2 separate regions of the Homo sapiens genome follow, and region 2 is linked to region 1. The links are contacts of gene promoters, found by promoter capture Hi-C in human tissues and cell types (Jung and others, 2019). All regions are on one chromosome and are shown on one strand. The core of a region is centred on a gene start or on the middle of the fragment in contact, and the rest is flanking DNA. Distances in the headings are between cores, read along the strand shown.

Region 1 (5,544 bases), core at 1,442-3,941:
TTAGAATAATGGCCTCTAGCTTCATCCAAGTTGCTGCAAAAGACATTATTTCATTCCTTTTTATGACTGAGTAGTATTCCATGGTGTATATATACCACATTTTCTTTCTTTCTTTTTTTTTTTTTTTTGAGACAGAGTCTTGCTCTGTTGCCCAGGCTGGAGTGCAGTGGCGCCATCTCAGCTCACTGCAAGCTCCGCCTCCCAGGTTCACGCCATTCTCCTGCCTCAGCCTCCCGAGTGGCTGGGACTACAGGCGCCCACCACCATGCCCGGCTAATTTTGTGTATTTTTAGTAGAGACGGGGTTTCATCATGTTAGTCAGGATGGTCTCGGATCTCCTGACCTCGCGATCCGCCTGCCTGGGCCTCCCAAAGTGCTGGGATTACAGACATGAGCCACCACGCCCGGCCTATATACTACATTTTCTTTATCCACTCATTAGTTAATGGGCGCTTAGGTTGGTCCCATATTTTTGCAATTGCAAATTGTGCTGCTATAAACATGCATGTGCACGTGTCTTTTTCATATAATGACTTCTTTTCCTTTGGGTGGATACCCTGCCATGGGAATGATGCATCGAATGGTAGCTTTAGCTCTACTTCTAGTTCCTTAAGGAATCTTGCTGTTTTCTATAGTGGTTGTACTAGTTTACATTCTCACCAGCAGTTTTATGCATGTTCCCTTTTTGCCACATCCACATCAAAATCTATTATTTTTTGACTTTTATGACAATTCTCGCAAGAGTAAGATGGTATCTTATGGTGGTTTAATTTGTATGTCTCTGATAATTAGTGATGTTGAACATTTTTTCATATGTTTGTTGACTGTATATCCTCTTTTGAAAATTGTCTATTCATGTCCTTTGCCAATTTTTTGATGGGATTGGTTTTATCTGGCTGATCTGTTTGGGTTCCTTGTAGATTCTGGATACTGGTCCTTTGTCAGATGCACAGTTTGTGAATATTTGCTCGCACTCTGTGGATTGTCGGTTTACTCCGCTGATTATTTCTTTTGCTGTGCAGACCCTTTTTAGTTTAATTAGGTCTCATTTATTTATTTTCATTTTTGTTACATTTGCTTTTGAGGTCTTAGTCATGATTTCTTTGCCTGAGCTAATGTCTAGAAGTGTTTTTCTCATGTTATCTTCTAGAATTTTTATGGTTTCAGGTCTTAGACTTAAGTCTTTGATCCATCTGGAGTTGATTTTTGTGTAAGGTGAGAGACGAGGATCCAGTTTCATTCTACATGTCCACTTCAGCCTTTTGAGTAGCTGGGACTACAGGTGTGTGCCACCACATCTGGCTAATTTCAAAATATTTATTTAGTAGAGACAAGGTCTCGCTATGTTGGTCCAGTCTCTAATTCCTGGCCTCAAGTAATCCTTCCTCCTCTTTCTCCCAAAGTGCTGGGTTTAAAGGTGTGAGGCACCACGTCTGCCCTATTCTCATTATTGAATCTATAAAGTTCTTGGCATGGGCTCTGTCTCAGGGAGCAGTGCAGGGCTAAGTCCAGAATCCAGGTCTCCTCACCCAAGCCCTGGCTCTCAACTACCCCTCAGGGGTCTCTGCCCTCCTGTGGAAGAGAAGTTCCAGTTCCATGACAGGCAACTTGTCAGGATAAGCATCCAGAAACTGACCCGCCATCAGTGGCACTTTGACAACTGTCTTCTTAATTCAAGGTTCACTTAGCATAGGTCTCATAACTGCTTTGCTCAGAGCTGGCCTGCTGGCCTGCAGTTTAAAGAGAAAGGATGCTATGGCCAGGATCCTCAGTGTCACAAGAGAGGAAGTCAGGGAATCACAGAACCTTACAGCCAGAACAGACCCTGGAGAGCGGGAGGTCTGCTCTCCTTTCAGAAAGAGAAGCTAAGGCCCAGAGCAGGGAAGTGGCTTGTCCAGGGTCACACAGCTGAGCAAAGTGACAAACCTGGACCAGGAGCCAGCCTTCAGGTCAGCAGTCTGGTGCTCTTCCCACCTCAACCTGCTCTCCTCTTTCTTAAAGAAAAAGAAAGAGAAGGTGTTTCAGTAGTGAGTGTGGGATAGCCACCCACTTCACCATGGTTTGGAAGCATCTCTCCATCCCTCCTCTCACTCAACAGCTGTGGCAGAACAGTCAGGGCCTGCCTGACCTCTTGAGTTTTATTGTCTCCTCTCAACTTGGGCTTAAAGGGACTTTATTAACCATGACTAATACCAGAGGATCCAAAGCTGCACCCACTTGTTAATTTTGAGGAATTTTTAAATGCGGGATTTAAAAAAGATTTAATTTCACGCATAGGTATGAACAGCCCCTCATCATCCCAGGTAGAGGATGAACAACTCATCATCCCGGGTAGAGGCAGGTAAGTGTGTCCAGCGTCCCTCAGGGAATGCTCTTCTGATGCCAAACCCTCTGCTTCCGCGGGGTCACTTCTCGGGTGGTTTTGTTTCTCCTCTGCTTCCACAGTTGCAAACCCTCGAAGTGCCACGACCCCTGGGGAAACTCGATCTTAAGTCCCATGGCCAAACGCTCCAGCCCGCGGGGCTCTCAGGACACCACAGCGATCGGATTTCGCGTGGCCGCCAGGCTCCCCCTACTCCTGTCCCCTCCCGCCAGAGAACCCCTGGAGCCAATCAGAGCGTCGCGGAGCCCGGGGTTGTAGAGTCCCGAGCCCGGGACCCGCCCCTCTTTGTTGCGGTGGCCAATAGACGCATTCGGAACATCGGCGGCTGCCCGGGTGACTTGGTTATATGTCACAGAATAACATTCGAGAATGGGACATGGAATGAGGCGACGGCCCCAGCAAGCCCCAGCAGCCCCAGCCCCAGCCCCAGGCCCAGCAGCAGCAGCAGCAGCCCCTGCTCTCCCGCCGCCCGGAGAGGCTCTGCAGCCATGAAGCCAACCGTCCCGAGGTAGGATCTTGGAGCTGCCGCGCGCCCTTCCTGCGCGCCGCCCGCCTGCAGCCAGTCCCTCCCGGTGATAGGCGCTGGAACTCGGGGAAAAGGGGGCGGATGGAGCTCTTTCCACTAGATCCCCGCCGGGGTCCGGGAGGGCTTCCTGGAAGAAAGCGGGCCGCCTTGCAAGCCAAGGCTGCTGCAGCGCCCTCGCGCCAGCTCTGGGCGCTCACATGCCAGCACGTTCGTGGCTCCCCTCCTCTCTTGGCCACATCTGAGGACCCAGGAATGTGTGGAGCCTTGCGGGAACCTCCTGTTCCTTCATGCTACACAAGCTGTCTTTCTTCTCCCCACATCTTGCGCTCCGCATCCCCCAAGCTCCTTGTGCCCCTCCATCCCCAACCCCCCGGGTTTAGGTGTGTGTGAAGCTTCGTGGCACATTTTGAGCTGCCTTTCTAGGTAATCGCAGGGCTGGAAGCCCGTCATCGATTCTCAGGGAGGCTGTCAGCGTGCAGGGGGGAGCGGGGAGTGTCGTGGAGACACTCCGGGACCCCTCACTCGGTTCCGCTGTGCGTCCACTTAGCTGTGGTGTCAGCTGTGTCTCCGCTGATTTCAGGCACCGCCGGTAAGCAGGGAGCCTCCGCGGAGCTCCCGCCGCCGCTCCCCCTTGGTGAGTCCTGCCGCAGCGAGAGGCATGGAGAAGGCCGCCCCCGCGGGGCGCTGATCCCCTCGCCGCGCCCGCGCGCACACGCCCCCCGCCGCCGCCGCCGCTGCCGCCGCCGCGCGCCCCCAGTACCTCGCTCCCCGCCCAGGCCCCACCATGACCGGCTCCGCGGCCGACACTCACCGCTGCCCCCACCCCAAAGGCGCCAAAGGCACCCGGTCCCGGAGCAGCCACGCGCGGCCCGTGAGCCTCGCCACCAGCGGGGGCTCAGAGGAGGAGGACAAAGACGGCGGGGTGCTGTTCCACGTCAACAAGAGCGGCTTCCCCATCGACAGCCACACCTGGGAGCGCATGTGGATGCACGTGGCCAAGGTGCACCCTAAGGGGGGAGAAATGGTGGGCGCCATCAGGAACGCCGCCTTCTTGGCAAAGGTCAGTGGCTTCCAGGGCGGAGTTGGGGGGCTGGGGGTAGGTAGGCAGCGATGGGACCGTTTCAGCCTATACATAGCAAACACAGGCAATCTCCATTTTCCTAGTCCTGCTACAAACTCCCTTCCTCTCCCCATTCCTTCCTGCCAGCCCTTTTCTAATTGAGATATTTAGATTGGAAGCCTAAGAAATGGGGAAGGGAGAGGTAGCGGGCTTGCTATCCTGGGACTGTGTAATTGGATTGTGCCAAGGTGTCTTTGAAGCTCCAGCCAAACTCTATTATTTACTCACCCCCACATACATCCTCCTTCAGCAAAAGCTAGAGCCACCAGGTACCAGCGATGCCAAAGAATGCACAGACCCCAGGGATCCCACCCTGCTTGTTCTCTTTGGAGTGTCTTGCTCCTCCTCTGCTCCCCTCTTCCCCCAGCAAATGATTTATTAAGCTGTGAATGAATTTGAAATCAACCAGTCAGACTTCTCAGTGTGAATAATTTCCAGACTTTTTGCCAGTTTTTTTTCTTTTCTTTCTGGTTTTTTTGTGTGTGTGTGTGTGACAGTGACTTTCACCTCTGAAACTTGCAAAACGGTGAACTCTCTCTCTCTCTTCCCAGCTTATTTGTGCTCCAAGAAAAAAGAAAGACTTTTGGCTGAGACTTAAAAGGGACTTTCCAGTACACATGATGAATTAGTCTCACTGGATAGAAAAAGAGGATGAGGAGTGAAACTCTCTTTTTGCCTTGGAGAGAAGCCAGTGAGCCATTTGGGTTTGGTGGCTAAGGATATCTTTACCGAGGGAGGGAGATGTACCCTGGTGGGAGTAGATACGTTATATGAAACATCAAAATGCAAACTGGGGAGAAATGCTGCCGAGCCTCGGGGTTATAGCGTGGCGGATGGTTTCCCCTGGACCCTGGGGACGCTGGTACGGCTGAGAAGATTCCTGGGCAGGTCTAGGAATGCCAGACTTGAGACCCGGAAGGCCATCTGGTTGATTCCCCAGCCTGGTGACAGCTGAGCATCTGAGCCTGCAGGCCAGAAAGCTGTGTGTGTCCTTGGAGAAGTGACAGAGCCTCTAAACTTCCTGCTGCAGTCAGTTACAGTGTTCTATTACTCTGCTGGTCAAGGAGATCTTCATTGTGCCCAACTAGAATCTTGCCTGCTTTAGTGTCAACCATAATTACCCTTGCTGAGTTCTTGAATATGAGAACAACCTTTGTTCCTGGTTTGCAGTTCTGACTTGAGAATTTTTCCTCCAGTGAGGAGCCGAGAGCCCTTAAACTTGGAAGAAAAGTGACCACAAGGAAAAAAACGCCTGTTCCTACTGTCCCATGCTGCCTTTCTTAGTAGCACCCGTACCAACCCTGCCTCTAATTGTGCTTTTATCCTTCCTCCAACCATGTATGCGGGTGCGCGGGGGGGGGTGCATTCTCTATGTGGGAATCATGGAATTTTGCTGTTTGTAGAGACCAGTCTCCCACCTCTCAACAGAATCCCCTCCTCTTTCTGAAGACCTCTTGGGAATGGGGAGCTTGCTGCTTCCCAGGGCAGCTGATCTTAGGCCTGGCCAGAGTCGAT
Region 2 (5,544 bases), core at 1,313-3,812, 95 kb after region 1:
TGAGTCCAGGAGTTCAAGACTAGCCTGGGCAACATGGTGAGACTCCATCTACACAAAAAATACAAAAATTAGGGGGGCATGGTGGTGCACACCTGTAATCTTAGCTACTTTGGAGGCTGAGGTGAGAGGATTACTTGAGCCCGGGATGTCGAGGCTGTAATGAGTCAAGATTGCGCCACTGCACTCCAGCCTGGGTGACAGAATGAGGCCCTGTCTCAATTAAAAAAAAATCGTATCATCTGACAATAAAGATTGTTTCACCTCTACCTTTCCAACCTGGATGACTTTTATTTCTTTTTCTTGTCTAATTGCCTCCGCCAGAACTACCAATACAATATTGAATGGATGTGGAGGAGCGGACATCCTTGTCTTGCTCCTGCTTAGGGGGAAAGCTTTCAGTTTTTCACCATTGAGAATGATGTTAGCTGTGGGTTTTTCATCAGTGCCCTTTTTCAGTTTGAGGAAGTTCCCCTTCTATTCCTAGTTGGTTGTGTATTCTTAACATGAAAGGATGTTGGATTTTGTCAAATGTCTTTTCTGCATCTATTGAGATGATCCTGTATTTTTTCCCTTTATACTATCAATATGGTGTATTACATTGATTTACTTTCATATATTGAACCAACTTTGCATTTTGGAGATAAATCCCACATGTTCATGTCATGTAATCCTTTTACTGTGCTGCTAGATTTGGTCTGTGAGTTTTCAGTTGAGGATATTCACAAGGAAATTTTTTTTCTTGTGATTATTTGGCTGTGGTACCTGGGTAATACTGGCCTCATAAAATGAGTTGGAAAGTATTCTCTTTTCTTCTTTTATTTGACAGAGTTTGAGAAAGATTGACGTTAATTCTTCTTTAACACTCAGTTTCACTGAATTCATTGGAAAAAGCTTCTAATCCCAGGCTTTTTGTTTGTTGACATTTTTTTGATACAGACTTAATGTCTTTACTGGTCTATTCTGACATTTTTGTCTTCTTGAGTCGGTTTTGGCTTTGTCTTTCGTTCCTTTAGACGTGGTTTTCTTTAGCTTTTTGGATGTATTTAAAGTAGCCAATTTAAAATTTATGTCTAGTAAGACCAACATCTGAGCTTCCTCATGGACATAGTTTTTAATTGATTGCTTTTTTATCTGTGTATGGGTCACACTTTTTGTTTTTTATAATGCTTCATAAATTTTTGTTGAAAAATTAATTATTTTAAATATTCTAATATGACAACTCTGAAAGTCAGATTATCTCTCCTTCCTAGAGTTCATTGTTAGTGCTTATTGTAGTAGTTGTTTATTTAGTTTTCTGAACTAATTCTGTTAAATCTGTTATTTGTTGTGTGTGACCACTAAAGTCTCTGTTCCGTTAGCTTATTAATTAGGCAGAGATTGGACAGCAAATGATTGGACAGTGATTTCCTTAGGTGCTGGAACCAAAAAAACAGCTCCCAGTCTTTGCAGAGAGGCCCTGTTTTTATTTTATTTTATTTCTATTTTTTACGGTGACAGGGTCTCACTATATTGCCCAGGCTAGTCTCAGACTCCTGGGCTCAAGGGATCCACCTACCTTAGCCTCCAAAGTGCTGGGATTATAGGCACGAGCCACCGCGCCTGGCCTTATTTTATTTTTATTTACTTATTTATTTTGAGACACCGTCTTGCTATATCATCCAGGTTGGCATGCAGTGGCATGATCTTAACTTACCACAACCTGTGCCTCCCAGGCTCCAGCAATTCTCTTGTTTCAGCCTCCTGAGTAGCTGGGACTACAGGTGTACGCCACTATGTTGGGGACCAGCCTCAACACCACCTGTAGGGTACTCGAAGTCCGGTGGTGACAAAGGAATGAGAAGAGACAGCTTAAGAGTTTATAAAGGTGGGAGCCAGGGGGCCAGTTGCAAAATGGAGGCTGCAAAAGGTTTAGAGCTCTGGTCTCTATACTATTTATTGAGTACAATTACTTAGATTTAAGAAGCAGATTTTTAGGGCGAAACAGTGAAAGGGTTGCAGTGCGTCATAGGCGTAATTTATAGTAATAGCGGTTTAAATGAATCTCCTTTGTGCTCAAACAGCGTATCTTTAACTATCAGAGAGCAGCTAGTGGGAGCGGCTTAACTAGGAGCCTGCATGTCTGTCTACATTTCAGTGTTTTAAAGGAGTGTCTTTCTCCCTGAACACAGTGTTTACAGATAAGAGAGCGGGTCTAGTTCTGAGCATGGGAACATGATGGCAATTAGGAGGCTTTCCTCCTCAGAGGCCTCTTGCGGCTTTCCACAACTTAATGTCCCATATTTTTATGGCCAGTTCATACAGGCACCCCACAAGCCCTTTTCCTGAATGAGAAGAGACAGGTTGAGAGTTTGTAAAGGTGGGAGCCAGGGGGCCAGTTGCAAAATGGAGGCTGCAAACAGTTCAGAGCTCTGGTCTCCACACTATTTATTGAGTACAATCACTTAGATCTAAGAAGCACATGTTCAAGGCGAAACAGTGAAAGGGTTGCAGTGCGTCATAGGCGTAATTTATAGTAATAGCGGTTTAAATGAATCTCCTTTATGCTCAAACAGCATATCTTTAACTTATCGGAGAGTAGCTAGTGGGAGCGGCTTAACTAGGAGCCTGCATGTCTGTCTACATTTCAGTGTTTTAAAGGAGTGTCTTTCTCCCTGAACACAGTGTTTACAGATAAGACAGCTGGTCTCTCTCTGAGCATGGGAACTTGATGGCAATTAGGAGGTTTTCCTCCTCAGAGGCCTTTTGTGGCTTTCCACAACCTATTGTCCATATTTTTATGGTCAGTTTATACAGGCACTCCACAAGCCCTTTTCCCAACACCACTATGCCCTGCTATTTTTTTTTTTTTTTTTTTTTTTTTTTTTTGCATTTTCTTGTAGAGATGGGGCCTCACTATGTTTCCCAGGCTGGTCTTGAACTCCTGGGCTCAAGTGATCCACCTGCCTCAGCCTCTCAAAGTGCTGGGATTATAGGTGTAAGCCACTGCACCCTGCAGAGGCCCTGTTTTTATGCAGGTGTACATCTTCAACACTCAGCCAGGCAGTTTACAACCCTGCCTTAGTCTTCTCATCTTGCTTGTACAGAGCTTCAAGTTTGGCTAGATGTGAAAGCTTAAAGCCTTCTCAAGTCTTTCCTGAGCATCTGCGTAGCTCTGGTCATGTGCATGGTCTTCTAGATTCTCAAGAATATATTGGAACTTTTCAAGGCCCTTATTCTTCCAAAGCTTCTCATTCTCCAGCCTTTTCTCTCAAGCTTCTTGGGCAGTCGATTGTTTGCTCAGCTGTTATCCATTACTTCAGGGAGCAAAGACAAACACATTTACCTATAAATATTTGTGGAAAAATGTCCCCTGGTTAATGGCTTTAGCGTTGGGACAAGGTGAAGATAAGCCTTTTGAGTTGGTCTTCTGAAAGCCACCAGACAAATAAGACCAGATATTTATTTATTTATAGTAATAATTACTATTCTATAAAAATGAGGTCTCTTCTCCCTCAGAACTAGTTGTAGGAATGTTGGCTGTTATTTTCAAGGATATCCCTGAGTTGAGGAGCAGGGGATGGGCCTAGGGTTAGTTAAAATGCCAGAAAGTTTGCTGTTCTTAGAGATTCAGCCTATTTTCTTTCTTTCTTTTTTTTTTCTTTTTTGAGACAGAGTCTCGCTCTGTCGCCCAGGCTGGAGTGCAGTGGCGTGATCTCAATTCACTGCAACCTCCGCCTCCCAGGTTCAAGCAATTCTCCTGCCTCAGTCTCCCGAATAGCTGGGACTACAAGTGCCCACCACCACACCCGGCTAATTTTTTGACTATTTAGTAGAGACGAGGTTTTACCATGTTGGCCAGGCTGGTCTCAAACTCCTGACCTCGTGATCCGCCCGCCTCCGCCTCCCCAAGTGTTGGGATTACAGGTATGAGCCACCACGCCCAGCTGAGATTCAGCCTATTTTCTTAAATAAGTGTTCCTGGGTTGCTGTAAGCTTTTGGTTAGTTTCCAGAGTTCTGAAAGAGTTAATACTGAGAGTTTTTGTTAGTTTTTTCATAGTTTATGTGGAGCAGTGAACTTTTGGAGTTCCCCCTAACAAAGAATCAGTTTTTGGTTTCATTGGTTTTTCTTTATTGCTTTTCTCTTTTTCTATTTCATTGTTTTTCTCTTTTTAAAAAAATTTCATTGAGTTATTACTCTTTTCTTTATGTTTTATTCCTTATTCTTGCTCTAGGGTTCAATATTTTTTTTTCTAGCTTCTTAAAGTAGAAGCTTAGTTCATGACCCTTCTTCTTGTCTACTATAAGCCATCAAGGTTATACATTTCCCTCTAAGCACTGCATTAGCTGTGTCCCACACATTATGATATGCTTCCATTTTCATTCAATTCCAAATATGTTTAAAAGTTTTTGTCACTTATTTTTGATCCAGGCATCTTTAAGAATTGTATTTACTTTCCAAATATTCATGAATTTTATGGGTAACTTTCTATTATTAACTTCTAGTTTAATTCCCTGAGGTCACAGAGCAAATCCAATTTATATTGGTTTTAAAAATTTTGTTAACATTTATTTATTTATTTATTGAGACGGAGTTTCGCTCTTGTTGCCCAGGCTGGAGTGCAATGGTGCGATCTCAGCCCACTGCAACCTCCGCCTCCCGGGTTCAAGTGATTCTCCTGCCTCAGCCTCCTGAGTAGCTGGGATTACAGGCATGTGCCACCATGCCTGGCTAATTTTGTATTTTTAGTAGAGACAGGGTTTTTCTACATTGGTCAGACTGGTCTCCAACTCCCAACCTCAGGCTATCTGCCCACCTTGGCCTCCCAAAGTGCTGAGATTACAGGCATAAGCCACTGCGCCCAGCCTGTTAACATTTATTTTATAGCCCAGGATATGGCCTGACTTGTTGAATGTTTTCTGTACACTTGAAACAAACATTTTCTGCTACTATTGAGTGGCGTGTTCTATAAATGTCTATCAGGTAGAGTTGGTTGATAGAGCTTTTCAGGTTTTCTGTATCCTTATTCATTTATTTGTTTACATGTTTTGTCAATTACCGAGAGAGGAGCGTTGAAATCTTTTTTGTTTTTTTTGAGACAGATTCTTGCTCTATTGCCCACGCTAGAGTGCAGTTGCATGATCTTGGCTCACTGCAACCTCCACCTCCCTGGTTCAAGTGATTCTTGTGCTTCAGCCTCCCAAGTGACTGGGGTTACAGGAATGTGCCACCACGCCGGCTAATTTTTGTATTTTTAGTAGAGATGAGGTTTTGCCATGTTGGCCAGGCTGGTCTTGAACTCCTGGCCTCAAGTGATCTACCCACTTCAGCCTTCTAAAGTGCTAGGATTACAGGCATGTGCCACCATGCCAGGCCTGAGTGTTGAAATTTTAACTATAATTGTGGATTTGTCTATTTCTTCTTTTAGTTCTAATCGTTTTTGCTTTTTACATTTTTAGTTTTGTTATTAGGTATATACACATTTAGAATTGCTCTGTCTTCTTTATGAATTGAATTCTTTAAGTTTTGTCCTTCTTTATTCCTGATCATATTTCTTTGTCTTAAG

The links. Contacts are between HindIII fragments. The study calls those that stand out against the background at their distance.
Region 2: a contact is called between a fragment that was not itself captured here and the fragment with the promoter of VASH2 in region 1, in 2 of the 25 tissues and cell types used here (pancreas and spleen).

What each region holds. Positions count from the first base shown.
Region 1 is chr1:212,947,850-212,953,393 of GRCh38, forward strand. It overlaps VASH2 (vasohibin 2), which reads left to right and starts at 2,692. Exons shown (of 8, transcript NM_001301056.2): 1 at 2,692-2,891; 2 at 3,490-3,969. The coding sequence starts at 3,694. RefSeq lists enhancers at 2,678-2,827, 3,348-3,397. The HindIII fragment of the contact is 12,745 bases long and covers 1-5,304 here.
Region 2 is chr1:213,043,342-213,048,885 of GRCh38, forward strand. No RefSeq gene overlaps it. Among named protein-coding and RNA genes, the nearest start is that of RPS6KC1, 5.1 kb to the right of the region's middle. RefSeq lists a cis regulatory region at 1,866-2,824. The HindIII fragment of the contact is 7,014 bases long and covers 1-5,544 here.